2 separate regions of the Homo sapiens genome follow, and region 2 is linked to region 1. Evidence: promoter capture Hi-C in human tissues and cell types (Jung and others, 2019). All regions are on one chromosome and are shown on one strand. Each heading gives the region's core, a stretch centred on a gene start or on the middle of the fragment in contact. The rest is flanking DNA. Distances are from core to core; before and after follow the strand shown.

Evidence for each region. Contacts are between HindIII fragments. The study calls those that stand out against the background at their distance.
Region 2: a contact is called between a fragment that was not itself captured here and the fragment with the promoter of DERA in region 1, in 1 of the 25 tissues and cell types used here (H1 embryonic stem cells).

Annotation. Positions count from the first base shown.
Region 1 is chr12:15,907,934-15,913,108 of GRCh38, forward strand. DERA (deoxyribose-phosphate aldolase) reads left to right here and starts at 3,399. Exons shown (of 9, transcript NM_015954.4): 1 at 3,399-3,481. The coding sequence starts at 3,451. RefSeq lists enhancers at 3,089-3,833, 3,834-4,577 and silencers at 3,257-3,316, 3,337-3,686. The HindIII fragment of the contact is 4,741 bases long and covers 396-5,136 here.
Region 2 is chr12:15,770,343-15,775,957 of GRCh38, forward strand. All of the region lies in intron 1 of EPS8 (EGFR pathway substrate 8, signaling adaptor), which reads right to left. Among named protein-coding and RNA genes, the nearest start is that of EPS8, 16 kb to the right of the region's middle. The HindIII fragment of the contact is 3,863 bases long and covers 1,572-5,434 here.

The DNA.
Region 1 (5,175 bases), core at 2,149-4,648:
ATTCACAGGAAGCACTTAATATTAGCGAGTATTATATATTGTATCAGTGATTCCCAAGCTTTAGGATTCTGTGGCCAATAGACTTCAAAATGGGGGAGAGGAGATGGAATGGTCGGCTTCTAGCCAACTGAGGCTATTAAAAAAGAAAAAATAATTATCTAACGCCACGATCTTTATAAAACGACATTTTAAAATTCAAATTGGTAGTGAACAACGTAGTCTCAGAATGAAGGAGTGTTCTTTAAATTGAATAAATTTAGCTTCATAAAACACTCAGTATAATTCTTATTTTTTTTTTATTTTACCATGAACTAGGAATTGGATGTTCTATTAGTCTCCCTCCAGTTCTAAAATATTTTGACTCTAATATTCACAATTTTTCATAGTCCTCCCTGCTCCTACACTTTTCTCCATCTGACCTAGAAATGCTGGCTGACAGTTTGTAGTCTAAGTGGTTATTTACCTAATGAACTTGTGAATAATTGCTCTTAGAAATCATAGGAGTAGAGACTATATCAAATGAAATTTGACTGGATAAAACAGTAGGCAGTATAAGAAAAGTAGCAAAGACAGCAATATACACTCATTCATCTAACAAATATTTATAGTCTACTAATTGCCAACTACTGTACTAGATCCTACATATGATGAACCAAACACAAATGATCTATGCCCTTTGGACCTTAAAATTTGTTTTACTCCTATCTCCCAGGACTGGTAGGTTCTTAGAAGCTTCAAGATAAATATTACATATTCCTAGAGCTTTAATTTTAATTAAAGGAGGAGTGAGGGTGGGAGGATAATTAGGTAATTTATTTGGCAGTTTAAAATTTACATTGAAAAACATCAATGAATAGGAATAGCATGCAAAATTTACATGGCTTAAAAAATACAACATGTAATACTTTAAAAGCAATTTTACTCTTGTAAGAGTCAGTTTGGGCTATGGCTCCAGATTGGCATGCATAGTTTATTTTCCTCTGCTTCTCATTGGTGGTTCTTTACGTTTAGTTTGCATAAACATTGTTTGAAGAAATATTAAAATTACAGATTCCAGGGTCCTAGATACTCTGATTGAGTAGGGCTGTGAGGAAGCCCAGAACTGCTTTAGAAAAAGCTCTTGGGTGATTCCCATGTAGTGGTCTATAGCTCTTTCTTTGAGGGGACTTGCCTTAGGGATACTTCAGAAGTTTCATAAGGCAATAAATGTAAAAGGAATCTTCACAAAATGAAATATAGGAACATTTCTCTGTGAAAGAAACTCATTTTTTGCATACTATCCCTGCTGTCTCTCCTAATGTTGCCAAATTAACATACTTTTAAACTGCAGAGATTAATTTGAGATTAATACATTCAACAGGTCCATTTTAGAAAAAGTCCTTGAGAAATTCTTGACTGATACATTGCTAAAACATTGCTTTAAGAGGCTGCCCTAATTCTGATTTTTCAACTAATTTAGGATATCACAATTTAAAAACAAACAAACAAACATTTATGTAATGAATGGTATGGAATCTGGTTTGGAGTTGTGTTTACTTCTAAAAATAGAATTTCATGTATTGCCTTTGTATCTTCTAGAGATGTGAATGATCTCCAGCCAGAGACCACCAGTAACACACCTACAAGTGGACAAAGTTGTGTTTATTGACATTGTAACAAGGGAGAATGCTTGCCATGGGCACCTAATGTGAGGTGTCTCAGTAAGAGGATGTTAGAAACTACATAGGATTTGGGCCTGTCGTAGGTGATTTGGGGAAAGTTCAAGGAAGGATCTGGACTGGATGATGGTAGGAACTGGTGATAGTAGTGCATCTTAATTCTTATCTAAAACATAGGAATGGAGTGAAGCTAGAACTGATTGGTAAAGAAGTCATAATAGCTAGGATAGGGGCTATTTGAACAATATTCATGGTTTTCTATTATCAGACATGATTATGATTATGTTTTTGTTGATTCATTGTGGTCACAATGGCCTTGGCTGATGCTGTGCTGTGAAATTGTATACGTTTAACCAGGGAAAACCATGGTCCAGTTGTGAGTTTCAGGCCAGCTCCAGGCTTTCAGGGCCTGCTTTTCTCTTTTTCAAGGTTAATATAAAAAAGAAAAGTGCTATAGTATGTATGAGTAAGATCTACACACATCCGAAACATTCAACAGTGGCTGTGTGTGGACAAGGCTGAAAGCTCAATGTAGAGGAGTATACAAATATTACTATTCCTATTTAAAACAGCTCAGTAATTACTGTGTGAACTTGACAATAACATTAACAGCTTCCATTTTTTAAGTATCTACTGTATGCCATGTTATGTACTAGGTGCCTTGCATACATTCAACAGCTTTGCAAGGTGAACATATTTTGATCATCTCCACTTTACAGGTAAGTAGACAGACTATTATTTCCAGAACTGCCAAGTTACATTTATTAAATGGAAGAGCTGGTATATTAATGGGTTCAGCTCATTTTGAGCTCACTGTATTTCCCCTATACCAGGATGCCTTTCTATTCAGAACTTTGATGTCTAAAGTTACAGCAATGGAGATAAAATACATTATTGGCAGGATTGTTCAGAGACTCAAATGCTATCATACATCTATATATGATGTATGAAAGCACCTAGCACAATAACTGGCTCATGGTAGACAAATCATAACTAACTGTACTGTTTTCATAGCAGAGGTGCCTCTAAACGTGAGTACAGATAAGTTAACTATATTGAGATTGTGGAGTGACTCGACGATTTTAACCTCTTGGTCACAGAGAAATCAGGCTGAAGCATTTTACCTTTATAGAATCATAGTATTTTGAAGAACCAAGAAATTGTCAAGGTCTTCTTTTACAGATGAGAAAAATGAAGCTCGGAAAAGCAGTTAATTTGCCCAGGGTCACACATTTAATTATTGCCCGAGCTTGGCTAAGAAACCAGGTCTTCTGACTCCTAAGCCCTTGCCTTCTTCAGGCCACATAGCTGCTTCTTTTCATGATGTGTAGATTAGAAAAGTCAGTGTGCCCCGGGGCCCTTGATTGCACCTTGGTTTCCCTAACAAGGATATGGGATCCCTGCTGACATTTCAGACCTTAAGTTGCAGAGCTCTGCACTTGGATCTTCTTCCTTCTTGTTATATAATCTTACAGTTAAAAGTTTCTAGGAATATTTTTATTACGTGCAATTGGCAACTTCAGTATTTTTTAAAGGGTGTTGGTAGCATTATTTCCGGGAGCTACTTAGCGCTCCGGTTCGGTACCTCGTGGAGAAGACGGGGGAGGGGAGCAGCGAGATTTCCTTGCGGAGCAATATTCCTAGGGTACAGACCTCGTAGCCCGGGCCCGCGACTCCGCCCCGGGAGCGGGCAGGGGCGGGGCGAGCGCTCCAGCTGGCGGGAAGGAGGAAGGGCCGGGCGCGGCGCAGAGGCGGGCGCCTACCAGCCGGCAGCTCCGGAGCTGCCCGCGCCATGTCCGCGCACAATCGGGGCACCGAGCTCGGTAAGGGGCCCGCGGGGCTCCCCATCCCCTCTCCCTCGCGTTCAGCGCCGCCGGGACTAGCGCGGGGCCTGCTGCCGCCCAGTGCCCTGGCTGTGGGTCCCCGAGGGGTTTTCGCTGGGGCGGGAAGCAGTGGCGTCTGGTCAGCCCTCACCCCAAGTAAAGGCCGAACCCGGCACGTTCGCGCCGCTTGTCTTTGCACCTAAGCTTTTACTCTTGTATGCGGAAGGAGTAGGAAAGGGTTAGATTATTATCTTCCTGCCTTTTCGTTCACTCTAGCTCGCTGGTTGGAAAACCCAACAACCCAAAAAACAAAACCCAAAACAAACAACCCCCAAGCAGGTAAAAACAGATAAAAACCTTCTTTCTCCTCCTTTTAATAGAATACTTGTGTAATTTAATGCAGTATTTCCGTAGATAATTTTAACCGTAACCTTGAAGTGGCCGTGCTCGTGGAAAAGTTGTCAGCCGTCTGTGCTCAAAATGTAACACTGCAGATTCATGGGATTTTAGAGTTACAAAGATTTGTTAAAGTACCTGTATTATTTCCCAGTTTTCATCTTTTTTTATATTGTTCAAATACTGGCAAGAAACCTTAGTTCAGATTTCTTTTTTTTTTTTTTTTATTGATCATTCTTGGGTGTTTCTCGCAGAGGGGGATTTGGCAGGGTCATAGGACAGTAGTGGAGGGAAGGTCAGCTGATAAACAAGTGAACAAAGGTCTCTGGTTTTCCTAGGCAGAGGACCCTGCGGCCTTCCGCAGTGTTTGTGTCCCTGGGTACTTAAGATTAGGGAGTGGTGATGACTCTTAACGAGCATGCTGCCTTCAAGCATCTGTTTAACAAAGCACATCTTGCACCGCCCTTAATCCATTTAACCCTGAGTGGACACAGCACATGTTTCAGAGAGCACAGGGTTGGGGATAAGGTCACAGATCAACAGGATCCCAAGGCAGAAGAGAATTTTTCTTCAGATTTCTTAACATGTGAAAAATTTATAATTCAAACAGCAAAACCATGATCAAGAGAAGGTTTAAGCGTCTCGTTTAAGTATTATAGCTTGGATATCTGTGTATCCAGGATCTTTAACTTCTTACCTGTGTGACTTCGGACAAATTAATAACTTTGCGCTTAAGTTTCTTCATCTGTAAAATGGTTATTTTAGTGGTAGTTACCTTATAAGGCCGTTAGGAGATTAAATAGGATACATGTAAAGTAGTTTGGTATATTGTGGACACCTAGTAAGTCTTCAGTATAGATAGTATTAGTATATGGAGTTATGGTTTTAGGGGCTAATTTTGAGAAAATTGGCTGTAAATTATATGTAACACATACAGGTAGGTCCTTTTCGCCCTCCTTAAAAGTGACTGGTACTTAAACAGTCTGCACTTCCAAGAGGTGTTCTGGATTTTTTGTCGAATGGTAAGAGAGTAAATCTATCATTTTAAAGACAGTTGATTTACTAACCTGGTTGATTTTGTTTTAGTCACTGTCCTCTAGCTGATTATGTTTTAAACTCTAGTCCTATCTCTGGAACGTGGTCTTTAGTAATAACGGCATTATTTCTTAGATTGGAATATCCTTGAAGGTGGTGGATATGGGGCAGGTTTGGGGTGGTGTCTTACCTGGGTATTCCCAGGAATATGACCATGTGACTATGCATACATCAAGGATGTGCCCTAAATTTCCCAAAACTTA
Region 2 (5,615 bases), core at 2,253-4,752, 140 kb before region 1:
AATAACATTATTCATACTATTAAAAATATTTATAATTACAGTAGGATTTGGTAAAAACAATGTGCTAAAGCGTGTTTTTGTAGGCCCTTTTGGGTTTAGTTCATGAAATATCAAAAAGCTCTCACTGTCTTACTCATAATACAAAAATCTTGAAAATTGTGCTCTAATGAGGGGAAAGGATAGAAAAGAGTCAGACTGAAAAAATATCATCTTTGTTGGCTTTTTATTCTAAGAGCTCAGTTTTTTGTGGAAAAAGTTATAATACTTTAAAACAATGGTTTACTTATTAAATCTGTGAGATGTTAAAGAGCATAATCATAGCCCACATTTAAAAGAATGGGAACCTGAAAAACAGGCATGTTTGCCAGAAGGGTTTATCCTAAATAACAGAGTACATTCTGATTGTCACCATGATTAAGCTTTTTCAGAATATTTCAATTTAGGCTCAGTAAAAACTGTGGTCAGTATTTTTTTCCTTTTCATATTGAGAGTTGGGATGTTACTGGCACAAATCTCATGATGAAAGATGCAAGAAAAAATTCATTTATTTCATCATTTAACCAATACACATTGAGCGTCTATCACACAAAAGCACCACTCCAGGCTTTAAGGCCTGTCCAAAAGTAAAAATCAGATATGGAGCCTACCTTAGAGGAGCTTGATACCTGGTATCAGGTAACACACATGTATATAAATTACAGTTCACGAAAGAAAATAAGTGCCTAGGCGATCCTGAGAAAAAAAATATTAAGTGGGAGAGGTACCAAAGAAGGTAGATTATTCTACAATGGCAGATAAAGTAGACCTTAACTGATGGATTCGATTTGTATATAGAGATAAATTAAAAAGTTATTCCAAATATAGACAAGAGGGACACTGAAGCACAGACTGGGAAAACTGAAGTATACAGATGAAAGTGTATAGTACCTCACTTTGGCTAATGAGTAATTTATAGGAAAGCGGGTAGTGAGGCTAAAATTAAAGAAAGTCACCAGGTTGTGAAAAGCCTGAAAAGGAAACCTTTGTTAGCAGTTTTTAAAGCAATGGACTGACATCATCTGAACTCAGCTTTAGCAAGACTGATCTGAAAGTAGTAATTAACATGAATTGAAGTAGGACAGAGGCAGATACAGAGACATTCAGGAGGGAATAGCTTAAGAAAATGGTCATATAGCCTTGAAACAGTGAAAAACTGAACAGAAGGGGCAAAGGCGAGGGTTAACTTTAATGTGAAAGCAGCAAAATCTGGCAATCAGTTGCATATGGCAGGTAAAGGAGAAGGGGGGTCATGGATGTGTTCTTCTAATGGGCTAGAAATTCTCCGTAGGATTGCACTGCACTCCAGCCTGGGTAACAGAACAAGACTGTCTCTTAAAAAAAAAAAGAAAAGAAAAAGAAAAGAAATTCTTCCTAGAACTGAACTATTTTTGTGGCTAACTCATTACAAAGAATTCTTTGTGGCAGTATTGAGAGCTAATTTCAATACAAAAGAAAGGGGAAGGCCGGGGGCGGTGGCTCATGCCTGTAATCACAGCACTTTGGGAGGCCGAGGTGGGTGGATCACGAGGTCAGGAGATCGAGACCATCCTGGCTAATGCGGTGAAACCCCGTCTCTACTAAAAATACAAAAAATTAGCAGGGCATAGTGGCGGGCGCCCGTAGTCTTCATTTGTACCACCCTAATGAGCATATGGGGAACCACTGAAGAGTTTTAAGCAAGGTAGTTAACATGATTAGCAGTGAGAGACGGAAGAGGAGAGTGCTCTATCAGCCATTTGCTGACTCAAAAAGATTTAATGACTGTTGACATATAGGTGGGGCAGAAAGGTGGGTAAGAAAAAGAGTCCAGGAAAAATTCAGATTTCTAAGGTTGTCATTTGGATAAAAGTCACTCCAAGTAGAGAGACAGAAAGAGATGAGGGGGCCAGAGTAAAAGCAAGAAATTAATTTTGGGAAATGTGAAGTCTGAGGGGCCTGTGTGATATTCAGCTTCAGTCATAAATAGAGTTAGAGTTCCCAAGAAAGGCATCACCTGAAGAACTGAGAGTAACTGTTCTAAACGAAACACTGAGGTTCCCTAGAAAGAGAATGAAACTTAGGCTGTAACATGAAATGAGATGAAGGCTAAGAAAATAATTCCAGAAAATCCAGAAACTTTTCAACTTGTGAGTGTTCTGAGAATACACAAAACCATGAACTGAGGCACAAAATAAATAAATAAATAAATAAAGCATTGGCTCTCACTGCTGCCAACAGATGGTGCTAGAACTTACTTGAGAGTTTCACTTAGGAAGAATTTTGGATACCTATTCCATCCCAAGTAGCAGAGCTTCTGAATCAACATCTAAGTGTAGATGGGTAACAAAGCAGAGGTAGATGTTAACCAGGAAAGAACAGCACCACCACAGGAGCCAAAGGAAGAGAATATTCTTTTTATTTAAAAGAAGGCAAAAATCATTACAAACATACATTCATTCAGCAAATAGACGGGTCTACAAAGTACCAGAAACCCTAAATGGTAAAAATTCATAGTGAACGAGACACAGTTTATGTCCTCAAAGAGTTTACAGGTAAATGCTACAGCAAAATCAAGTAAAAACTAAACATTTTCCTTTTGGTTTAGCTTTTAGAAGATGGCAGATGACCTACAGACATAAGCTCAGCATCAGACCACAGTGGGCTCGCTGATGTAGGAGAAGTGAAGAGGAAACCATAGACATTAAGCTTCTCTTCAAGAATCTTAGGTGGAAACAAGACAGAAATAAGGCAGCAGCAAAAGGATGTTAAGAGACTATGTTCCATATATGCAGAATACCTCACCAAGACACACCTGAACTCCAAGAGCTTACTATATACACACTTGGACATAGGTACATATAAGAGAGAGAAGAATCACATTTTAAACTGACTCCATAATACATTTTGCAATAGAGGCCTGAATTATTAAAATTACATTCTAATGTTATTAATTGTGATTATTAATGGTTCTTTTACTATGCTCTGGTTTAAGTCAAGTTGAAAATTAGAAGGCAATCATGAAGCCACAAAATTTCAATCATCCTCAGAAGAAGGAGGAAATGAATGGGGATACCCTGGTATTAAACATATGCACAGGACCAAATTATGTGTTAAAGGGAGATAGATACATGAAATATTTTAGAACTGTGTTTATCAGCCCCTTCAAGAGACTATGGAGAGAGATTTAAGAAAAAAAAAAAGCATTGGGGATAAGAAGAGAGACATGATGCAGCAGAAGCAAGTAAGTATTCTAAGTACAAGTACTTATTAGAAAGAATAATGTGATATTAACAAGTCTAGCTGACATAGTCTGCATCAGTTTTATCATTCCAGCAAATAATCTCAGGACAACATTATTTTGACAGCATATGACATGAATCAAATGCATATCATAGGAAGAAGAAAGAAGTTCCTATCTGTGTCTAGTAAACAGAGTGACAAGGTGGCAATCAGGGGAAGTCAATGTCTGACCAAACAAAAGTAATTCACATTGGTAACTATAATTCTCTCTCATTTTTGCAGTAGCAATTTATAAAATTTATAATAAAGGCTAGAAATTTTTTGTGACTTTAATAAACATAATCAATTTCATGCATTCATAAATATTTGTTAAAATTTCTTTAACAGCCTCATCTTCTTTGGATAGTCGAGCAAATGTCACCAGAAGTGTACAAACTAATTTACTGCAGAAAAGCAGGAAAATAATTCCACCATCTTTTACCAATATATTCAAATACTACCTTTGAAAAAAATTCTTCAAAAATAACTAATTTTTAGCGTGTCATCAATTAAAAAAAAAAGATTCTCTGGTAATGGTTTGCTTGAGCCACGAATAAGAAGGAATAACCAAAATGAGGAACTAATGAATTTTTTCTTTTGGAAAAGAGGTGCCTGTATGCTACACCTCTTTTACAGATTTGATAAAACTGCAGAGATGAATTTATATATCTACCCCCCTCCTTCACCCCACCCCCCCTGCAACTTGCATACAGGCCTAGTGTTATTTAAGCAAACAGTAAACAGCTATTACTCTTCAGTTAGGTAGACAGAACTTGGAAAATTATTAGATCACAAGGTTGCCACAGGGACGCCAACCATCTGTCTAGTAAGTATGAATGACTTCTTCCTCCCTGTTATCCTGTATTCTACAATGCTCAATAGGCAAGGTAAGGGAAAGGTTACAGGTTTGTTATACATATACATATATATATATATACACATATAAATATATATGTACACATATAAAATATATATACATATATAAATATAAATATACATACATACATATAAAATATATATACACACATATATATATTTTAAACATATAAATATATAAATATATATATATATAAAAAATAGTGACCAAAATATTTGGTCCAAATTACCAACAGGGTGGGAAAACTCAGGGACTTTTATTCTTCCACAGCCAACAAAGTAATCAATGATTTGACAAATATTTATCTAAAGCCTTCTTTGTGCACAGAAATCTTTTTTTTAGTTCAGTGTATAATGGCCCAATCCATGCATGCTTAGTATTTAAAAGCAATTCTTGACCCTGCTACCAAACAATTAAGCTCCCTGCAGTGCAAATAAGGAAGTTTTTTGAAACAGATAGTTATGAATCTTTCATTCATAGTAGCTAACTAGAAACATATGAGCCAAACCCATTGTGAGTATCATTTCAGTGGTGTGTAATTTGAGAGGTGTGTTAGAATGCGCTTGGCCCCACTAAAGAAGGAGTCCACATTTTCCTTGCTTGCAAGTGAAATGCAAAAACAATTTTGCAACTTGGCAATTCATATGGCAGTCTTAAAGTTACCCACATTCAAAATTCAAGACAATAGAATTTTCCCCATCTCTAAGGTTTAACACTTTACGATCAGCCTAAGGTGTTACATATGAATTCATTTTATGAATAATGGCTTCTTCACTCCCAAAAGCTTGCAGGAAAAAATACTGAATACCGTATATAAAAATGACACAAACCACACTTGTCTGGTCTGATCTTAAATTGACCTTAATAGTTTAAAATCTTTCAAAGGGAGTACTGATATACTGTAATTTTCCCCAAAGCTCATAAATAGCCAACGTTCCTTTGTGGAATCATTGTAAAATACATGTAATTTGGAAATAGACTTATTTTATAAATCCACAGTACCAGTATATGTAGAAAAACAATACAAAATGTGAATATCATTACATTTGAATAGGAAAAAATGTGAATCTATATTAAGGAAAGAGGGCGAGAAAAGCAAAAAAGATTAGCCTTTATTTTCCAGATTTTTGAGCCCTTACCTAGAACCTGATGCTTCTGTTAAGTTTTTATGCTTCTTTTCATTTAGGTGTCTAACATCACGCAGTCCACAAGGATAAGAATGTTGTCTATCTTGTCAATTAGAGTATTCTCATTATTTAGTACTAGCACTTAATAGGCACTTATTTAATATTTCTTTATTGACAGATAAATTTCATTAACTGAAACAAAATTATTTTCTATTAGGTAAAGTTGTATATTCCAGGACTGTTAGATCAAGAAACTAGATTGGGTTACATTAAGCCAATGGGCCTGCTAATGATTTAGCAAAATTCCTATCTCA